4 separate regions of the Homo sapiens genome follow, and all the other regions are linked to region 2. The links are contacts of gene promoters, found by promoter capture Hi-C in human tissues and cell types (Jung and others, 2019). All regions are on one chromosome and are shown on one strand. The core of a region is centred on a gene start or on the middle of the fragment in contact, and the rest is flanking DNA. Distances in the headings are between cores, read along the strand shown.

The links. The method cuts DNA at HindIII sites, captures the fragments that hold promoters and counts their contacts. A contact is called where the count stands out against the background at its distance.
Region 1: a contact is called between a fragment that was not itself captured here and the fragment with the promoter of JMJD7 in region 2, in 1 of the 25 tissues and cell types used here (dorsolateral prefrontal cortex).
Region 3: a fragment that was not itself captured here is called in contact with the fragment with the promoter of JMJD7 in region 2 in 1 of the 25 tissues and cell types used here (aorta).
Region 4: the fragment with the promoter of NDUFAF1 here is called in contact with the fragment with the promoter of JMJD7 in region 2 in 1 of the 25 tissues and cell types used here (hippocampus).

Annotation. Positions count from the first base shown.
Region 1 is chr15:41,421,647-41,427,086 of GRCh38, forward strand. The region is part of intron 1 of RTF1 (RTF1 homolog, Paf1/RNA polymerase II complex component); the gene reads left to right. Among named protein-coding and RNA genes, the nearest start is that of RTF1, 7.3 kb to the left of the region's middle. The HindIII fragment of the contact is 8,350 bases long and covers 1-5,440 here.
Region 2 is chr15:41,825,492-41,830,711 of GRCh38, forward strand. JMJD7 (jumonji domain containing 7) reads left to right here and starts at 2,601. Exons shown (of 8, transcript NM_001114632.2): 1 at 2,601-2,697. The coding sequence starts at 2,634. It overlaps MAPKBP1 (mitogen-activated protein kinase binding protein 1), which reads left to right. Exons shown (of 31, transcript NM_014994.3): 31 at 1-2,364. It overlaps JMJD7-PLA2G4B (JMJD7-PLA2G4B readthrough), which reads left to right and starts at 2,601. Exons shown (of 25, transcript NM_005090.4): 1 at 2,601-2,697. The coding sequence starts at 2,634. RefSeq lists enhancers at 271-1,153, 2,199-2,428, 2,460-2,754 and a silencer at 2,489-2,578. The HindIII fragment of the contact is 30,158 bases long and covers 1-5,220 here.
Region 3 is chr15:42,258,775-42,264,638 of GRCh38, forward strand. TMEM87A (transmembrane protein 87A) reads right to left here. Exons shown (of 20, transcript NM_015497.5): 4 at 5,316-5,429; 5 at 2,422-2,475; 6 at 2,184-2,228. Among named protein-coding and RNA genes, the nearest start is that of GANC, 11 kb to the right of the region's middle. The HindIII fragment of the contact is 5,078 bases long and covers 1,485-5,864 here.
Region 4 is chr15:41,401,228-41,406,665 of GRCh38, forward strand. It overlaps NDUFAF1 (NADH:ubiquinone oxidoreductase complex assembly factor 1), which reads right to left and starts at 1,269. Exons shown (of 5, transcript NM_016013.4): 1 at 917-1,269. The HindIII fragment of the contact is 27,298 bases long and covers 1-5,438 here.

The DNA of each region.
Region 1 (5,440 bases), core at 2,339-4,838, 400 kb before region 2:
AAGGCACTTGTATAACTAAAAGAACTTGACAGGGAGGTTTTAAGATGGCAAAACTACTGGTTCTTTTTTTTTTTTTTTTTAGGCAGGGTTTCACTCCTGTCACCCAGGCTGGAGTGCAGTGGCACAATTACAGCTCACGGCTGTAGCGTTGACCTCCCTAGCTCAGTGATCCTTCCCCCTCAGCCTCTCAAGTAGCTGGGACTACAGGTGTGCACCACCACACCCAGCTAATTTTTAAAATCATTTGTAGAGATGGGGGTCCCACTACATTGCCTAGGCTAGTCTGAAACTCCTGGGCTTGGGTGATTCTCAGGCTTTGGCCTCCCAAAGTGCTGGAATTACAGGTGTGAGCTGCCACACCAGGCCTTATTTATTTATTTGTTTGTTTGTTTATTTATTTATTTTTGAGATGGAGTCTCACTCTATCGCCCAGACTGGAGTACAATAGCACGATCTCGACTCACTGCACCTTCCACCTCCTGGGTTCAAGCAATTCTCCTGCCTCAGCCTCCTGGGTAGCTGAGATTACAGGCGCCTGCCACCACACCTGGCTAATTTTTTGTATTTTCAGTAGAGACGCTATGTTGGCCAGACTGGTCTCTAACTCCTGGCCTCAGGTGATCCAGCACCTGGCCTTATTTTAACCTTTGAAAGTTTTTAAAACTAAGACCTAGTTTGAGAGTTTGAAAGCTTTTCTTTTAGCATTTGACCTGATAGTGACTCTGTCCTTATTTTGACCACACCCTTTCTTCAACATTTTTAAATTTCAAGATACTTGCTGTTGGTGCCTATTGGGAAATAATAATTTGAGGCAAACCTCTGGGCTCTATGTCATCTCCCTTTATGGAATAATATTTATGCAGTAAGTCCTATAAAATGAAAAGCATTCAAGATAATAAAGGAACCAGAGTTCTCAATTCAAATCAGTACAACTCCGTATTTATAAAAATTTTACTCTACCTTTCTAAAAAACTAAAAATTGAGCTATGTGCACACTGGGATGCTTTATTTTATAGGTTTCTTATTTAAAATGGAGATTATATTGTCATGTCCTGTTTTTCTCTGTTTATCTAACTTGAAGTAGCAATAATTAAATTTGTCTTTGAGAGAATAGGCCCCCCTAAGTATTTTCTTTTTTCTTTTTTTTGAGACGGAGTCTCGCTCTGTCACCCAGGCTGGAGTGCAGTGGCGCGATCTTGGCTCCTGCAGCCTCCGCCTCCCGGGTTCAAACAATTCTCTGCCTCAGCCTTCCGAGTAGCTTGGATTACAGGCGCACGCCACCACGTCCAGCTAATTTTTGTATTTTTAGTAGAGACGGGGTTTCACCATCTTGGCCAGGCTGGTCTTGAACTCCTGACCTCGTGATCCACCCTCCTCGGCCTCCCAAAGTGTTGGGATTACAGGCGTGAACCACCGTGCCCGGCCAGCCCTGTAAGTATTTTCTAGGAGCTGTTTTTAGATACTACATGTAAAGAATATTATTATTATAAAGTATACTTCTATAAACCTTCCCCATAAATCTTGAGAAATTTAAAAGTTGTGCTTCTTGTTAATGTAGTGTTTTCCGCATTAATCAGAGGCAAATTTTGAAGTGTAGGAAGAGTTTGTGAGAAGTGTCAGTGTTAATTTGTGAAAACTTTAATTTGTGTCATGTTGCATCTAGCTTGATGTAATTCGCTTGTTAATTTCACTCTTTTCAAAGAGTGAGTCCCATGGGAGCTCCCTCCCCACCCAGCCCCCACCCAAGATGGAGTCTTGCTCTGTCACCCAGGCTGGAGAGCAATGGCACGCTGGGCTCACTGTAGCCTCCGCCTCTAGGTTCAAGTGATTCTCCTGCCTTAGCCTCCCGAGTAGCTGGGATGACAGGCACGCGCCACCACTCCCGGCTAATTTTACATTTTTATTAGAGATGGGGTTTCTCCATGTTGGTCAGTCTGGTCTCAAACTCCCGACCTCAGATGATCCACCCACCTCGGCCTCCCAAAGTGCTGGGATTACAGGGGTGAGCCACCACGCCCAGCCCTGGGAGCTTTAACAGTGAGGCTTTTAGGAAAAATACAAAACTGATCTTCAGACACAGGTCATATTGGTGTATTTATTTTTATTTATTTATTTATTTATTTTGAGATGGAGTCTCACTTTGTTGCCCAGGCTGGAGTGCAGTGGGACGATCTCAGCTCACTGCCACCTCCGCTTCCCGGGTTCAAGCAATTATCCTGCCTCAGCCTCCCAAGTAGCTGGGATTACAGGTATGCACCACCATGCCCGACTAATTTTTGTATTTTTAGTAGAGATGGGGTTTCACCATGTTGGCCAGGCTGGTCTCAAACTCCTGACCTCAAGTGATCCGCCCTCCTTGGCTTCCCCAGGGTGCTGGGATTTCAGGCATGAGCCACCGCATCCGGCCTGATTGTTCATCGTTCAACAGATGTATTAGACAGCGTTAGACACTAGAGCTATTGGGTGAACAAAATGGAAGCAGTTTCCACCTTCAAGGAGTGTAAAGTGGAATGAGAGAGAGATGAGGTGGGGAGATTGCTCAGAGAGAGTAATTTCCTTACAATTGCACTACAGGCCATGAAGCAAGGACAAGAATACTGTGGAAATATTAACCAGGGACCCTATTCTAGCCTGATGAGAGTGACATTGAAACAGACCTGGAATATGTGTTAAGGAGAAGCAGATTAGAAGACTGAAGAGTAAAGGGAAGAGTGTTGAATGTTCATGGTTGAGGCACCAGCATATATAAAAGAAATGAGACAGGAAGGACCTCGAACCCTTATGAAACTGAAAGAAGCACAGAGTGAGTAACATAAACTAGTTGCATAGTTGGAGAGAGAATAGTACAAATGAAACTGTAGAGGTAGATTCTGTTTTGACCCTTTGAGGATGGAGAAGTCAGTTTACGGACTACACTCAGCAGTAAAAATAAAATTGAATTGATAGAAAACATCAAATGTGTCATACATAGTAAATATAAGTGATGAAATTTGTGTGTCTCATATGTACATGTAGATGTATACTGGGTTGTGAGGTATAATTTATCTTCCTGTGGGCTGCGTTAAAAAGAGAAAAGTTTTTTGGCCAGGCGCAGTGGCTCACGCCTTTAATCCCAGCACTTTGGGAGGCCGAGGTGGGTGGATCATATGAGGCCAGGAGTTCGACCAGGCGGGCCAACATGGCGAAACCCCATCTCTAGTAAAAATACAAAAATTAGCCAAGTGCGGTGGCACACACCTGTAGTCCCAGCCACTGGTGAGGCTGAGGCATGAGAATCCCTTGAACCTAGGAGGCGGAGGTTGCAGTGAGCCGAGATCACCACTGTATTAGCCTGGGTGACAGAGAGACTCCGTCTAAAAAAAACAAAAGAAAAAAAGAAAAAAATTTAAAGCCACTGGAGGGCGTCAGCCTCCCCGGTGGCTGGGACTGCAAGTGTGTGCCACCACACTTGGCTAATTTTTGTTTTTTATTTTTGAGACGGAGTCTCGCTCTTTTGCCCAGGCCGGACTGCAGTGGCGCTGTCTCTGCCACTGCAAGCTTCGCCTCCCGGGTTCATACCATTCTCCTGCCTCAGCCTCCCGAGTAGCTGGGACTATAGGCGCCTGCCACTGTGTCCGGCTAATTTTTTTTTTGTATTTTTAGTAGGCACGGGTTTCACCATGTTAGCCAGGATGGTCTTGATCTCCTGACCTCATGATCTGCCCGCCTCGGCCTCCCAAAGTGTGCTGGGATTACAGGTGTGAGCCACCGCGCCTGGCCAATTTTTGTATTTTTAGTAGAGACTTTGGAGTTTATTCTGAGAGTAATAGGAAGCCATTGAAGGATTTTAAGTTGGAGAAGATTTTCAGATTTGCCTTACCCAGACTATTGTGGAGAGTAATATGGAGGGGGACACTAATGAAGTGGCAGAGAGAGGAGTCCAGATGAGAGATGATGGAGAACATAAGTTCCATTAGAATGGAAGCGCCAGGAGGGTAACCGTATGTGTTCACTATGCTGTCCCTGGCATCTAGAGCAGTGCCTATATGCAGTTGGCACCCAGTCAGTATTTATTAAATGAAGGACTGACTTGGATTGATATGGTTGTTATAGAGATGACAGATAGTGGAATTGGTTGGACATGATGTTCAGTATGTAGAACTAAAAGGCCTTGAAGACTGAGGACTGATTAGATGTTAGGATGAGAAGAGGAGTATTTAGGATTGATGCCAGGCACTGGCATGAGATGGGGAGTGCTGGAGGAGCAGGTTTAGAGGTGAAGATCCTGCATTCAGTCTGGGATATGTGGAGTTCGAAGTGACTATGAGATGTCTAAGTGGAGACATCAAGTAGGTAGTTGAAAATAACACTTGAGGGCCAGGCACAATGGCTCATGCCTGTAATCCCAGCACTTTGGGAGGCTGAGGTGGGAGGATTGCTTGAGCTCAGGAGTTTGAGATCAGCCTAGGCAACATGATGATGAAACCTGATCTCTACAAAAAAAAAAAATTTTTTTTGGAGGTGGAGTCTCGCTCTGTTGCCTAGGCTGGAGTGCAGTGACACCATCTTGGCTCACTGCAACCTCCGCCCTGGGTTCAAGCGATTCTCGTGCCTCAGCCTCCTGAGTAGCTGGGATTACAGGCACATGCCACCATGCCCAGCTAATTTTTTTGATTGTTTGTTTTTATTTTTTTTTTTGGGATAGAGTCTCGCTCTGTCGCCCAGGGTGGAGTGCAGTGGCACGATCTCTGCTCACTGCAACCTCCCCCTCCTGGATTCAAGCGATTCTTCTGCCTCAGCCTCCCGAGTAGCTGGGACTACAGGCGTGCGCCACCATGCCTGACTAATTTTTTGTATTTTTAGTAGAGACAGGGTTTCACCATATTGGCCAGGCTGATCTCGAACTCCAGACGTCATGATCTGCCCACCTCGGCTTCCCGAACTGCTAGGATTACAAGCGTGAGCCACTGTGCCTGGCCATTTTTTTGTATTTTTAGTAGAGATGGGGTTTTTCCATGTTGGCCAGGCTGGTCTCGAACTCCTGACCTCAGGTGATCCACCCCGCCCCCCCCCCCCCCCGCCCCCCCCCCCCGCCGGCCTCCTGAAGTGTTGGGATTACAGGCGTGAGTCTACTGTGCCCAGCCGCTACATATATATGTGTGTGTGTGTGTGTGTGTGTGTGTGTGTGTGTGTGTGTGTGTAATTTTTGTTTGTTTGTTTGTTTGTTTGTTTTTTAGGCAGAGTCTCACTCTGTTGCCCAGGCTGGAGCGCAATGGTGTGATCTCGGCTCACTGCAACCTCCACCTCCCAGGTTCAAGCAATTCTCCTGCCTCAGCCTGCCAAGCAGCTGGGATTACAGGGGCCCACCACCACGCCCAGCTAATTTTTGTATTTTTAGTAGAGATAGGGTTTCACCATGTTGGCCAGGCTGGTCTTGAACTCCTGACCTCGTGATCCACCC
Region 2 (5,220 bases), core at 1,351-3,850:
CCTCTGCCCCTCACCAAAACCTGCGGGGCTGCTTGGAGTGGAAAGCAGGGAGCAGTGTTCAGAGGCAAAGCAGCCTTCCCAGCCGCTCCTCGTGGGGGGCCTGTATTTATTAATTTATTTCCCTGACTGTTGCCTCACTTCCTTGGAACTCCTGCCTCCACAGCCCCTCCAGTGGCAGGGACAGGTCTTGGGTCTTTGTCATCTTGGTGCTGTGAGAGGTAGGAGGGCAGCCTGCCCCATCTAGGAATCTGGGAAGGGCTGGCCCTCTCTTAGAAGCCATTTGAAATTACTGCAGGGATTAGCTCCCTGTGGTGGAGCATACACAGGGTACTCTGGGGTCGAGGTGAGAGGTGATGTGGTATTCAGTGCCCGTCAGCCAACTGTGGGCCTTCACCTCTACCTGCACTTCCCCTCTCACACCAGCTGCACTCCCGTGGCTGCCAGAGCAGGGTGGTTTTCCCCAATACCTGGAGCTCAGAAAGGCAGAGCCATCTGGCCCTCCAGGGTGTCCCCAGCCATCAGGAGACTTGAGTTGGTATTTGGACCTGAGCCCGCACATTCCACTCCCATTCTCCCTCCAAGAGGGGCCCAGCATTGTATTTCCCTGTGACCCCTTACTCTCCTGGCCAGAACTTGAGCCAGCTGTGGGATGTTGCTGCAGGACAGTAAGCCCTCACCTGGGCAAACATGAAGCTCTGGCCTCCTTTCCTCAGCCCCTTGTTCTTCCCTGTCCTCCACCCTGGACCCCAGCCGGCTGCTGGAGCCCAGAGGCCACCTTCTCCCTGCATCCTGAATGATGCTTAGTCAGAAGCCTGTGTTGGAACATCCCTCGTTTACGGGGCGCTGGCCTACCTCCTGAGGACCTCAGCCACAGATGAGATCACACGCATGCACGTGCACACATGTACACACACACACCTACCTGCACAGCACGCTGTTGAGTGTTGGTTGCTAGAGTATCTGGCTGGCTGCTGTGTGCCTGGTTTCCTCACATCCTGCCTCAGCTTCACCACCCTGGCTTATGTGGAACACCTATCAGGGAGCAGAAAAGGGGTGCAGTACACTAAGTGAACCCAGATTCTGGATTCTTGGTGTCCACAGCCTAGCTGATACGAGATAGCCCATAGGACACCTGGTTTAGGTAGAAGGAGCCTCCTCAAAGGCAGTGCTGGGCACCCACGGGTGTGCTGGATACTGGAGTTTGAGAGGAGGGAGGTGCTGGGGCCAAAGGAGACACTAGAAAAGTGGTAGATGGGACAGGTAAGTGGCAGAGGTGAGGGGATAAGTTAGAATGTAAAAGGGCAGTAATTAGGGGTGAGGGAAAGGAGATAGGGGACCCTAGGAGGTAGAGTGGGACCATGTCGTGAGGCAGTTGAAGAGTTGAGGAAAGGTTTTTCTGGGCCCTACTGCTCCCCTCTGCTGCAGGTAAGTCAGAGCAGCTTTACCACAGCTTCAGGCCACGAGAGCCCCTTCACCCGCCCTGCTGCGCCATAGGCAGAGGCTTATAAAGAAATGGGTTCTGGGCCAGGTGTGGTGGCTCAAGCCTGTAATCCCAGCACTTTGGGAGGCCGAGGCGGGTGGATCACCTGAGGTTAGGAGTTCGAGATCAGCCTGGCCAACATGGTGAAACCCTGTCTACTAAAAATAAAAAAATTAGCTGGGCGTGGTGGTGGGCGCCTGTAATCCCAGCTACTCGGGAGGTTTAGGCAGGAGAATCGCTTGAACCCTGGAGGTGGAGGTGGAGGTTGCAGTGAGCCGAGATCGCGCCATTGCACTCCAACCTAGGTGACAAAGCTACACGCCATCTCAAAAAAAAAAAAGAAAAAGGGTTACAAAAGGTTCCCAGCTCCGGGGCATCAGCCTGAGTGCGCTTGAGCTGCTCCAAACCTGGCCCTTCCCCACTCCTCTAGCATCGCCACCCGCATGGCCCTGGAACTCCCGCGGCGGCGGGGGCGGGCCCGTGCCTGCTGTGCCCCGACTTCCCACACCAGCCGCGCCCACCGCAGGTGGGACTCAGGTTCGCCCTCTGGGCCAGGTCCTTCACGAGGAGGGAGCTACCCTTCGCCAGAAGTTTGTGAGAATGTGGCCGCCCTTTTCCTGCCCTCTGCCCCATGTGGGTGGGGGGCCTCGTGGCCCGGCCGGCGCCCCGTCCCCTTCTGCATGTCTGAGGCCACCGGCAACCGCCGCCCCACTCCAGATTTGCCCCCGCCTTGTTTTGAAAGCCCCTTATTTATAACTTTTATACTTTGTGCAGGTCGCGGCGCTTCCTGCCTCATCCTCGGCTGCATGGGGCGGGGGCGCTGTTTTTAACGTGCCCGTTTGTACTGATGTATGAACTTGTCAATAAACACAATTGTTTGTTAACCCTGGGATGCCGGCCAGTGGGGCAGGCCGAAGCGGGCGCTGCCAGTCGCTCCACCGCTTCGGTGGCAGAACCCGGTGTGTGTCCAGGGGCAGGACGGGGCGGGGTGCTGGGGGTGTGGCCTGCGGCGGGTGCCTCTGGAAGGGCGGGGCGAGGGTCTGGGGGTGTGGCCTGCGGCGGGGACTCTGGGGAGGGCGGGGCGAGTGCTTGGGGTGTGGCCTGCGGCGGGGCGTCGGGGAAAGGCGGGGTCTCGGCCGGCGCTGACGCAGCCATGGCGGAGGCGGCTTTGGAAGCCGTGCGGAGCGAGTTACGAGAATTCCCGGCCGCTGCAAGGGGTGAGTGGCTCTCCCACAGGCTGCGGCGATTTCCGAACACGGGAGGGGCCCTGGGATGCCGCTGACACCGGGGGCTCGGAACCTCGTGTGTGCGACTGCCCTGAGGCCCCGCTCGGGTTGCTCTTCTGTGGCAACCTGCTTCCCTTCTCCCGTGTTCGCGCGCTCCCGCGGCTTCCTGGGTGATTCTGTTCACGTTGTTCCCAAGGCCCGGTGCCGTCTTGACCGTGGTCGCGGCGAAGCCCTGTGTTTCCTACAGTCTTGAGCAGCTTGCTGTTACCCTTGTTGAAAGCTCATCGAAGGCACACAGCTGGTGGTCGGATTCCTCCCCCACGCGCCCCACCTCCGACCTCAACTCCCTTGTCGCACTTTGGGAGGATTGCAGGCTGACCAAATGGTCCCTGGCTCTTCCCCTGCTTGGTTTTTATTCCTTTTCTTTCTTTCTCTCTTCCCTCCTTCCTTCTTTTTTCTATTTTTAAATGATTTCTTACCACTGAACAGCAACACAGGCTCATGTGTATGTGATGGGTATGTAATATACAGTGGTACGCAATGTAAATGAAGCAAGGTTTCCTCCCAGCCCCAGTTTGCATTCTTACAGAAAGATTGTTTATATCCGTGCACACACGACTTTTTACCCTTTTTTTGTACAAATAGTAGCCTGCTAAACACACTCTTCTGCACCGTGTATCTTGGAGATCATTTCACATTCCTCTACCTCAGTCTTTTTCACGTCTGTGTGCTAGTGCTGTATTCACTTAGTCATTTAGGTCATGTCCAATCCGTTGTTTTCAATAATGCTGCAACGAATACTTTGAGGATTGATTTAACAAATACTTATTCAGCATCTCTGTGTGCCAGGCTCTGTTCAGTGTGTTTGAGATACATCACTGAACAAAACAAATCTGTCTTTTACAGTCTATGTCCTGTTACATTCTAAGTGAGAACGTGGACAATCAACCACAGGTGTACTGAATGAGTACATTGTAGAGTAGAAGAAGTAGGTTAGAAGGTAAGTGCAGGCAAAGCCCTCTTTGGGAGTATGCCTGATGTGTTTAGGAAACAGTGAAGAAGCCAGTCTGCAGGAGCAGCGTCTTCTGCGCATGTGTGAGTATGTTTGTTGGTTAAATACTTTATATTTTTTGAGACAGGGTCTTACTCTGTCACACAGGCTGGAGTGCAGTGGCACGATCATAGCTCGCTGCACCTCGACCTCCCAGGTTCAAGAGATCCTCCTGCTTCAGCACCTGGGAGTAGCTGAGACTACAGGCATGCGCCACCACGCCTGGCTAATTTTTTTGAATTTTAGTAGAGACAAGGCTGGTCTCAGATTCCTCAAACAATCCTTCCACCTCAGCATTCCAAAGTTTTGGAACGCCATGGAACACATAAGCCACTGCTCCCGGCCTTGTTAAATTCTTAGCAGAGTTATGGGGTCAAAGCAATTGTTTGGATCCCTTTTGAAATTTTCTCACTTGGAAGCCCCAGGAGAGGAAAGCAGCCATTCTCTAAAGGAAATGGTGAGCAAGTAAAACAAATCCCTAATTGCAGAAGTCCAAAGGGTGAAAAAATGGCAGTTTCCATGTATTTTCAGAATCCCAGGCTGTGTGCAGTACTCACGCCTGTAATCCTAGCACTTCAGGAGACCAAGGTGGGAGGCATCTCTTGAGGCCAGGAGTTCAAGACCAGCGTGGGCAACATAGTGAGACACCATCGTGTGGTGGCATGTGCCTGTAGTCCCACCTCCTGAGGCAAGAGGATTGTTTGAGTCCAGCAGTTTTGATGACAGTGGCGGGCAGTTGGAAGCAGATGCTGTCATCATGCTGGCTGCAGTGGGGAGGCACAAGTCGGGCAGCAGAAGTGGCTCTGGGAGCAGCAGTGGTGGTAGTGAGTCCCCTGTTCCCTGCATCCCCGAGGCAGCCGACTGCACCACCCCCACCCTCACATGGCTGGGCAGGACCTGCTCCTCAGCCCAGACCCTCTGCTGCAGCCTGAACCTCGCTCCCTGCCACATCCCAGAAGCCTGCGAGCACCCTGCCAAAGGTGCAACTGGGACTTGTAGGGACTTGCACTTGTGAGTACAAAAATACTCACACATGTGCACAAAGACCCTGCTCCTGCAAACTGGCTTCTTCACTGTTTCCGGAACACAGGACTACTAGGCTCATTTGTTTGGGGTGGTCAGAGCTGCCATGCCATATGCACCTTGCCCGCCGCCGCTGTGGGGAAAACGTGAAGAGGAGAGGCAGCTGGGGCCACATGTTCCACAGAGCTGGCGGGAACTGGGGACAAGTGGGAGCCCCACCCCTTCCAAGTTGGTGGAGTGGGAGCTCCCTAGGCGCAATTACAGCCACCCAAGCCAGGACTGCAACTCAGGCACCCCTGTGCTCTTGGGAGCTAGGAGCAGGCAGGAGCCCCACCCTCCTAGATGCAGCTGCAGCCTCCCAAGCTGCAGCTGTGGACCCAGGCATGTCTGCACTTTTGGGGACCCAGGAAGGCCCCTTCCTGCTGCCGCAGGCTTGGAAG
Region 3 (5,864 bases), core at 2,774-5,273, 430 kb after region 2:
AACTTACATTCAGTTAAAATTCTGTACAAATAAAACTGGGGTTTAGGTAGTGAGAACACTTTCAGAATGGCAGAATAAGAAACTCTGAAAATCTACTCATCCATAAAAGCAACGAAAACACTGGCAAAAACTATCAAAATCAACTTTTGGAACTTTGGAAATTATTAAAGTCTTTCAACAATCCAAGAAATGTTTCTTCAAGAAAGGCATCTGAATCTAGGAAAGAAAAGCAAGCTTGAGATGTCTGTGTTCACCCTATTCCCATTCCTCTCTCCCAAGCTCCTTAAAACCAAAGTCCCTGAAACTGTTAACAGCTGATAAAAACAACAGCTTAGCAGCCACTAGGCAAAGGGGGTAGGGGAAGCAAACACAGAGTTTCACTCTGTTGCCTAGGCTGGAGTGCAGTGGTGTGATCTCGGCTCATTGCAGCCTCCACCTTCTGGGTTCAAGTGATTCTCCTGCTTCAGCCTCCCAAGTAGCTGGGATTACAGGCGTGCACCACCACACCTGCCTAATTTTTGTATTTTTGGTAGAGACGGGGTTTCACCACGTTGGCCAGGCTGGTGTCAAACTCCTGGCTCTCAAGTGATCTGCCCACCTAGGCCTCCCAAAGGAAAAAATACATTTGGAGGTCCCTAAAAGACTGATCACCTGAGCTGTCTGGCAAATTGCTGAAAAGCTCCATTCTCAGGGCTTGTCTTTATCTGACCTGACTCAGAGATCACCCAGTGTCAACAACCCTGTACTCAAAGCATTTGTCAAAAACATTGAACAGCAATCCTTCAAGATCACAGCTGCCTGAGGTGACCTTACCAACTGAGGCTATTAAGAGGCTGATTGGAAACTTAAAAGGAAAAATTGGAGAATGAGATGTCCATAGGAATTTTGGAAAGCTCCAAAATATTCCTGGAAATCTAGAAGGCCATATGTGCAGGGCTGTGCACACATGCCCAGGGCTGTGCACAGGTCCAGGAGAGACCTGAGGAGGCCCTAATCATTCACTGGCTGATCTTAAGGTTCTGTGCAAGCAGGAAGTAAAAGTTGAGACAGAGTGTAAACTGTGAAAGAAGCCAGACACAAGTCCATGTATTATATGATTCCAGTTACACAAAATGTCCAGAAAAGGCAAGTACAGAGAAAGAAAATAGATTACTGATTGTCAGAGGCTGGGGGCAGGAGAAATGCGGAGTGACTGATGAGTATGGGGCTACTTTTGGGGATGAACAATTCTGGAATTAGCGATTGGTGCTTGCACAACTTGAGAATACTAAAAACCACTCAATTATATGCTTTAATAACTTTAATAACAACTTTTAGGCTAGGTGCAGTGGCTCACGCCTATAATCCTAGCACTTTGGGAGGCTGAAGTGAGACTATTACTTGAGCCTAGGAGTTCTATACCAGCCTGGGCAACATGGTGAGACCCAACCCCCACAAAAAATTTTTTAAAATTAACCAGGCATGGTGGTATGTGCCTGTGGCCCCAGTTACTTGGAGTCTGAGGCAGGAGGATCACTTGAGCCCAAGACGTCAAGGCTGCAGGGAGCCATCTTCATACCACTGTTCTCCAGCATGGGCAAGAGTGAGACCTTGTCTCAAAAAACGAAACAAAACATAACTTCTGTAATATGTATATTATACCTTCATAAAGTTGTTATAAAATTAAAAACTTTAATCAGCTTTGTAAAAACCATAACCCAACATTGATAGCTGTCATCCTTCCTCTAAATTTTTAACTGGTGATGTTTTGAGGAATTAATTATGAATTTGAAAATAGTATCCATACAATGCATATTTATGAAAACTTAAGGCATATTTATAGCTTTAGACCTTATTTCAATTTTTCCAAACTCTCTTTCAATTATATTTTATCACAGATAATTTTAGATGAAGTTTAAGAGTTCTTATTTTTAATAAGTTTCTTCCTGTTTACAGATATTTATGGGGGGATAATTATAAAAGCAATACATGTGTACAGTAGAAAATTCAGAAAACACAAAGAAACTAAAAATCACTCATACTATCATCCAGAGATCCAACCATTTTTAACATTTTGGTCTATAGCTTCCAGATTTAACTTTCTTTTCAAATATTAGCATAGTATGGGAGAACAATTCAGAAATACACAAATTTAAGAAAACTAAAATATGTGTTCAATGCCCCAAATCCCCAAATATACTTACGGTTTTGTCTCCAATAAAGGTAAGGTTTGTTCCATTCTCCTTAGCCTTTAAACATTAAAAAAATAATAATAATTAATTCAGAACTTCTTGTTTTTAGCTGCCCAAGTTCCTGTAGCCACTGGGGAAGCCTGCTCCCCAGGTGCAGCACTCCCTCCTTAGAGATGCAGTGAGCACGGGTATCTCCTGCACCACCAAAGTTTTTACTGCACTCTCAGAAATATATAATGAAAACAATTACCTCCTGTTTTTCTCCTAAAAGAGGCAGTCGATGCATAAAATCTCCAGAAAAGGTCTATAAAAGAAACACAAAACAAAACATTAAAGGTGTGTAAATACTAGAAGAAAAGTGTAGCTCAAAATACAAAGAAATGGTTAGAACAAAACACCACACCCTAACTAGTAAATATAATAACACAGCATCAGTAGACAAAACATTTCCAATTAACCACAAACAAGTGAATAAAACCCTGCTGGGAACTAGAAAATAGTATCAAACCAAAATGGCCATTCAATTTTTCTATCAGAATAATAAACATTTAAGAATGACAAAGCTTTAGATATAGGATGTATGCTTAGGATAGAAGAAGCTTAGATCATTTCCCCTCATTCTACAGATGAGTAAAATGTGGCTCAAAACTACAAAGCTTTAGACAAAGAAATAGGATTTAAACCTAATATTCTTTTTTTTTTTTTTGAGACGGAGTCTTGCTCTGTTGCACAGACTGGAGTGCAGTGGTGTTATCTCGGCTCACTGCAAGCTCCGCCTCCCAGGTTCATGCCATTCTCCTGCCTCAGCCTCCCGAATAGCTGGGACTACAGGTGCCCGCCACCATGCCTGGCTAATTTTTTTGTATTTTTAGTAGAGACAGGGTTTCACCGTGTTAGCCAGGATGGTCTCAATCTCCTGACCTCATGATCCGCCCACATCGGCCTCCCGAAGTGCTGGGACTACAGGCGTGAGCCACCGCGCCCGGCCTAAACCTAATATTCTTGATGCTTAGGTCTGCTGTCCCTTCCACCATACTACATTTTTTATGCCTGTAAAAAACTACACTAATTATCTTTCTTACCAGTTATCAGTAGATGAGGCATTGTCCTTCCTGAGTAATGAGACTGTGTAATTCAACCCTGTTACATTAGACTGGAGGAGGAGAGGAAACCTTACCAATAAGCCAAGACCCTGGAAAGATTACAGCACATCTAAAAGTAGTCAGCCTCCAGCAACCAGATGCATCAGGTAGCTTTCCATAATCAAATCCAAGAAAAGACCAACCAATCCTCCTAGTCTAAGGGATAAATTTGGAAAACCAACAGAAAACATACAAACTACACAACATCACATTGCTTCTAGCTTTCTCTACCATTCTTTCACCATCTTAAAGCTATTTTCTTTTCCCTCCAAGACCATAAAATCTAAGTTATAATAAAAGCGGAACTCTTCCTTCAATTACCAATTAATTCATCTGCTCATCAATTATCCCTTTTTTTTTTTTTTTTTTGAGACCAAGTTTCACTCTTGTCGCCCAGGCTGGAGTGCACTGACACTATCTCAGCCTCCTGGGTTCAAGTGATTCTCCCACTTCAGCCTCCCGAGTAGCTGGGATTACAGGTACCCGCCACCATGCCCGGCTAATTTTTTTGTAGAGACAGGGTTTCACCATGTTGGCCAGGCTGGTCTTGAACTCCTGACCTCAGGTGATCCGCCCACCTCGGCCTCCCAAAGTGCTGGGATTACAGGCCTGAGCCACCGCATCTGGCCTCAATTACCAATGACTAAATTTGTCTTCTTAATAATAAACTTTACTTCTAGTAATTTGACAGTTCAAGGCAAGTTGCTAAATATTCCAAAATAATTTTTAAATATAGTAAGGACAAGTATAGATGATAATTACTATAACTATTTTCAACACATATAAAATTTTTCTATCAAAAAACTGAGATTACTATTTCTAAGACAACAAAATTTGATATCAGAATCTCCACTTACATGATTGCATATGTGTAAGCACGAAAAATGTATGATTATTCACATCTCCCTCTTTCTACAAAATTAAGGTGTGAAATTGAACTCTAAGACAATGATGATACCCTTCTGATTTCAGATCTATAGAAGTAAATTTTAAAAACCCTGATTTTTCTGGGAACATATTAATTAGATGAGGAGACCAAAGAATTAAAAATGTGACGTTTTAAATGTCCATCAACAGATGAATGGAAAAACAAAATGTGGTACATACATACAATAGAACATCACTTAGCCTTAAAAAGGAATGAAATTCTGATAACGCTATAACATGGATGAACCTTAAAAACATTATGCTAAGTGGAAGAAGTCAGACAAAAAAGAACAAAAGTTGTATGATTCTATTTATATGAGGTATCTAGAATAGTCAAATTCATGGAAAGTAGAAGAGTGGTTACCATGGTCTTGGGGTTGGAAGGTGGGGAATTTTTGTTTAATAGGTATGATGTTTCAGTTTGGGATGATAAAAGTACTAGAGATGGGGCTCAGCCCGGTGGCTCACACCTGTAATCCCAGCATTTTGGGAGGCCAAGGTGGGTGGATCACTTCAGGTCAAGAGTTCAAGACCAGCCTGGCTAACATGGTGAAATCCTGTCTCTACAGAAAATACAAAAAAAATTAGCCAGGCGTAATGGTGTGAATCTGTAGCCCTAGCCACTTGGGAGGCTGAGGTGAAAGAATTGCTTAGATCCGGGTGATGGAGACTGCAGTGAGCCGAGATTGTGCCACTGCACTCCAGCCTGGCGGACAGAGCAAGAATCTGCCTTGGGGAAAAAAAAAGTACTGGAGATGGGTCGATGGCTGCACAGCAATGTGAATATATTTAATGCCACTGTATTATACACTTAGAAATGGTTAAAATGGTAAATTTTATGTAGTGTATATTTTACCACAATAAAAAAATGGGGGTTTGCTTTTTACACACAAAGCAAAGTACAACCTCTCTTTGATGAGTATGTATAAGTGGCTGACTATGTACCTATCAGAACATGCTTCCACTTACTTCTGCCAAAAGAAATACTTGAGAAGTCGGAAGTGGATACAGCCAAAAATATATACATTCCAATTTTTGCCTATTCTATTTATCTCCAATCACTTTCAAAGATTACCTGTGTTTTAAAGAGTTCACTGCAGTTCTGGAACAATTTTGATGATGTTTGATATTTCCCAGACAAGCCTCTTTTTTCCTTAAGTTTTTCCAAATACAACTCTACTTCTTCTGCCTGGAAAAAGAGATAATACAGAGTAGTTAACTCACCTTCCAAAAAATAAGATACTAAGAGCACAGCACAACAAACAGTTCACCTGCAGTACAGATACAATTTTGAGTTTGCTATTTTAAAAATGAACAGCATCAGATAAAGGCTCTATATAAAAATATCTAAGAATCAAACACTATCAGACTCAAGGACTATTAGACTCTAGTCTTTGGCTCACAAGGCATAGTTCTACTAACAATTCTGAGTAGACTGGGAAACTGCCAGAGTGTAGAGGGTTTTGTCACATTAAAATATACTTAAAAGATTTACTTGACCAAATTAACAACATCAACAAAAAAATATTCATGCTCATAAGCTAAGATAGAGCAGAAAATTGTTGCAAGCACAGAACTAGGATAATCTTCTTAAAAATGCAAATTGAGAGATAGAAACAGAATG
Region 4 (5,438 bases), core at 19-2,518, 430 kb before region 2:
AAAGTACTGGGATTACAGGCGTCAGCCACGGCGCCCAACCTTTTTTTTTTTTTTTTTTTTTGAGATGGAGTCTCGCTCTGTCACCCAGGCTGGAGTGCAATGGCACGACCCTGGCTCACTGCAACCTCCGCCTCCCGGGTTCAAGTGCTTCTCCTGCCTCTGCCTCCCGAGTGGCTGAAATTACAGGTGCCCGCCACCATGCCCAACTTTTTTTTTTTTTTTTTTAAGACAGAGTCCAGCTCTGTCCCCCAAGTTGGAGTGCAGTTGTGCGATCTCGGCTCATTGTAACCTCCACCTCCTGGTTTCAAGCAATTCTCTTGCCTCAGTCACTGGGATTACAGGCGTGCGCCACCACGCCCAGCTAATTTTTGTATTTTTAGTAGAGACAGGGTTTCACCATGTTGGCCAGGCTGGTCTCGAACTCCTGACCTCAAGTGATCCGCCCGCCTCGGCCTCCCAAAGTGCTGGGATTACAGGCGTGAGCCACCGCGCCCAGCCGACATTATCAATAAGGTTTGTTGATAAATCAAAACCATGTAAACAGTATGTTTTCACATGTATTATAAACGTTAAGGGAACCAGGAAAAATTAACAGTTGATCTGAGGTCCCGGAATTATGGATAATATTTAAATTCCCCCGCGCCGGTTGCACTTAAATGATTTTACCTCTACACATACCGAAATTTGAGAAACAAATGATAGCTCATAAAATGTTTTCCAAACCCTCCGTAGTGTTACTTCTCTAATAATATAACTTTAATTATAAATGCTTTGTTTCATTTTTTTTTTTCTACCAGTAAACAGAAAATCTAAACTATTAACTGGACAATACCGCCCTGAGGTTGACGGTGGGTTTTGACAACACAATCCACGCAGCTAGAAGTGAGTAGAATTAGTAAAGCTATCCATGCCTTACCATGTGCCAGAAACTGCTCTAAGTGTTTCACTGACGGCTCACAACAATCCTGAGAGAGGTACTATTATTATTTCAATTATAGAGACGAAGAAACTGACGTTCCAAGGCTAATTTACCCGAGGTCACACAGGTAGTGAGTGGCAAAATTCTTCCGCCTTGGCGTATACCTCCCGCACTCACGGCCTGGCCTCCGGAGGCTAGACGGTTCGCCGCGCTGGGGAGGCCCCCTCAACCCTCAAGTGCCAGGGCTCTGTCGCCTCCCCACACCCGGGACACACCAACCGCCGGCCTGCCGCCGCTTACCTCCCCGAGCCTATAGTGTACCTTCCGCCCAGAAGCCACTTTACCCGTATAGGTCCATCTGCTTTTCCCTTCCGATGCCAAACAAGGCGTCAGAACACCAAAGTTCCGGCCGAGTACAGAAGCCCAGGAAGGACAGCAAGGACCCCGTAGCCCAGCCAACTGAGGTTTTTGGAGGTTTTTGGTCCACTTGGTCGCCAGTTGTAAGGAAGCAGTGAGAATTCAGATAAGTTTTTCGCCTCTCCTTCCTGTATCCTTTCAGGCGGCAAACTCCATCCCTGCGTCTTTTTTTTTTTTTTTTTTTTTGAGACGGATTCTCGCTCTGTCGCCCAGGCTGGAGTGCAGTGGCGCGATCTCGGCTCACTACAACCTCTGCCTCCCAGATTCAAGCGATTCTCCTGCCTCAGCCTCCCGAGTAGCTGGGATTACAGGTGCGCGCCATCATGCCCGACTAATTTTTGTATTTTTAGTAGAGACGGGGTTTCACCATGTTAGCCGGGATGATCTCGATCTCCTGACCTCGTGATCCACCCGCCTCGGCCTCCCAAAGTGCTGAGATTACAGGCGCGAGCCACCAAGCCCGGCCCCCTGCGTCTTTCAAATAGAACCCAGTTATTGCTAACGCGCCTGTATCCCTTCCTTCCTTATCTGTCGCCTCGGTCCCCACAAGAACTGCCTGAGGCCTCAAAAGGCCGATTCTGCTGGAATTGCCCCCATGAATTCTTGAGGACCACCACGCACCTGGACAGCAGCCCCTCCTACCAGCCCTTCCCGAGTCTCGCCCCACACGGTCGCCAGTTGCTCAGGGCATCTGTTTGTACCTTGTGCACACCTCTCTTAAAGCACTTTTTTTTTTTGAGACGGAGTCTCACTCTGTTGCCCAGGCTGTAGTGCAGTGGCGCGATCTGCAACCTCCGACTCCTGGGTTGGAGCAATTCTCCTGCCTCAGCCTCCCAAGTAGCTGGGATTACAGGTGTGTGCCACCACACCCGGATAATTTTTGTATTTTTAGTAGAGATGGGGTTTCGCCATGTTGGCCAGGCTGGTCTCGAAATCCTGACCTCATGATCCACCCACCTCGGCCTCCCAAAGTGCTGGTATTACAGGCGTGAGCCACCATGCCCGGCCAAAGCACTTAAACATTGTTTGTTTTTGTTTTTTTTTCTTACTGCCAGGGAAGACAGAATCAACATTGTATCTTTCACTCACTTCTCACTTCCTTTGCCACGCTGTGAGCTTTCTTGGGTCCAGACTGCGCTGTTTTTCCTTTCCCCAGAATGTACCATAGCGGCGGGAATTTAGTGCTTAGTGTGAATTTGAGAGCATATAGTTCCGTAACACCTTTGTTCTCTAAGGTTCCGAAGGAGCTCACTAAATACACTAGCCCTTTCCATGTTTTCTCCTTCACTAGTTTCCGCGCCGCCTCCTCTTCCTCAAATTCGGCTTGGCTTCTCTAGACTCTACACTTGCCCCCTCAAACCTTACCTTTCTGCCCCCATCACTGACTCTTCTATTCTCTTCCCACAACCTTTAATGCGGGCTGTCTCTCCATGGCCCATCCTGCCTCTACCTCTTTTCTAGTTTCAAATATAAGTTATCGGCCGGGCGCGGTGGTTCACGCCTGTAATCCCAGCACTTTGGGAGGCCGAGGCGGGCGGATCACAAGGTCAGGAGATCGAGACCATCCTGGCTAACACGGTGAAACCCCGTCTCTACTAAAAATACAAAAAAATTGGCCGGGCGTGCTGGCGGGCGCCTGTAGTCCCAGCTACTCAGGAGACTGAGGCAGGAGAATGGCGTGAACCCGGGAGACGGAGCTTGCAGTGAGCCGAGATCGCACCACTGCACTCCAGCCTGGGCCACAGAGCCAGACTCCGTCTCAGAAAAAGAAAAAATCGAAATGTCTTTTTGTTGTTGTTTTTTAGGAAATATCCTTGAGCAATAAAGAAAACTAAATGTCTAAAACTAAATGTGTCATTTTTCCTCCTACTAATTCCTCCTGTCTCCCTATTTCTGTAAATGGCCACATCCTTCTAGGATGGAAATGCTTGACTGTCCTTGGCTCCTCTCCTTAAAATCTTCTCTTACTGATTTTAAATCCTGTTGCATTCTCTTGCTGTTTTTGATCTTTGATCTTTTCACACCTTCTTTCCAAGCCCACTGACACGTTTCTTGTTTTTTTGGTTTTTAAAATATAGTAGCCATCCTAATGAGTGTGAAGTGGTATCTCATTTTGGTTTTGATTTGCATGTCTCTAATCATTAGTTGTTTGCTGCTTTTTTTTTTTTGAACCACAGTCTTCCTCACCCAGGCTGGAGTGCAGTGGCGTGATCTCGGCTCACTGCAACCCCCGCCTCCCGGGTTCAAGTGATTCTCCTGCCTCAGCCTCCTGAGTAGCTGGGATTAGAGGTGCATGCCACCACACCCAGCTGATTATTGTATTTTTAGCAGAGTCAGGGTTTCGTCATGTTGGCCAGGCTGGTCTCCAACTCCTGACCTCAGTTGATCCACCCACCTCGGCCATCCAAGGTGCTGGGATTACAGGCGTGAGCCACTGTGCCAGGCTGTTTGCTTAAGTATAGGAAGCCCCATATGTATTTATTACCAGTGGAGAAAGGAAGGCTGGAAGAAAGAAAAAAATATTCAAATAGAAAGGAAGGACATGACAATGCCAGGCAGAAGAAAAGGTAGAGTCACTAGGGGAAGGAAATATAGGAAATAAAGGAAGGAAATAAAGGCAAAGAGCTGAGGGGAAATGATTATGTAGGTTAACCCAACCATGTCTGTAGCACCTTCTTCCTTGGCCTCCCAGACAGTGGTAGTGGGCTCCACCAAATCTTAACTATACCTTTGTTCACAACAAAACTGAAACCCAGCCAGGCAGGGTAGCTCACACCTGTAATGCCAGCACTTTGGGAGGCCTAGTCGGGTGAATCACCTGAGATCAGGAGTTCGAGACCAGCCTGGCCAACATGGTAAAACCCTGTCTCTACTAAAAATACAAAAATTAGCCAGGGGTGGTGGCGAGCACCCGTAATCCCAGCTACTCGGGAGGCTGAGGCAGGAGAATGGCTTGAACCTGGGAGGCAGAGGTTGCAGTAAGCTGAGATCTTGCCATTGCACTCCAGCCTGGGCGACAAGAGTGAAACTCTGCCTCAAAAAAGAAAACAACAACAACAACAACAACTGAAACCCATCCAAATTAGACATGGAGACAACAGGGGACCATCTATCTATTTGTGGACATAAGGCTGACAAATGCCATAAATGATAATATGACAAAGGGAACAAAGTGAGGGAAACTAAGAGCAGGCAACTACAAAGAGAAGCCCCTGCCTAAAAGGAAATGAACAGTAAGAGCATCATTCAGAAGCCTGGGACCAGAGGACATTGAAGCTGTTCTGAATCCGAATATGAATGGGTGAAGCCCTGTAGTCCCCTATATTGCAGGCAGTGACAAAAGAGGCAGAAGTGTTGTTCAGCCCTGGCCAACCTTAGAAGGTAGCAGGATCATTTTTTGTTTGTGTGTTTGCTTGTTTTGAGATGGAGTTTTCCTCGTGTTGTCTAGGCTGGAGTGCAATGGCGCAATCTCAGTTCACTGCAACCTCCACCTCTCGGGTTCAAGCGAATCTCCTGTCTGAGCCTCCCGAGTAGCTGGGATTATAGGTGCATGCCACCATGCCTGCCTAATTTTTGTATTTTTAGTAGAGACGAGGTTTCATAATATTGGTCAGGCTAGTCTGCAACTCCTGACCTCAGGTGATCCACCCGCCTCAGCCTCCCAAAGTGCTGGGATCACAAGCGTGAGCCACCGCGCCCGGCCTGTTTTTGTTGTTTGGAGACGGAGTCTTGCTCTGTCACCCAGGCCAAGGTGCAGCAGCCCAATCTTGGCTCACTGCAACCTCTGCCTCCCAGGTTCAAGCGATTCTCCTGCCTCAGCCTCCTGAGTAGCTGGGACTACAGGGGTGCGCCACCACGCCCAGCTAAGTTTTGTTGTTTTAGTAGAGACAGGGTTTCGCCATGTTGGCCAGGCTGGTCTCCAACACCTGACTTCAAGTGATCCACCCACCTTGGCCTCCCAAAGTGCTGGTATTACAGGCATGAGTCACTGCGCCTGGCCAGGAGGGTATTTTTTTGTTTGTTTGTTTGAGACCGAATCTCACTCTGATGCCCAAGCTGGAGTGCAGTGGCGTGATCTCAGCTCACTGCAACCTCCACCTCC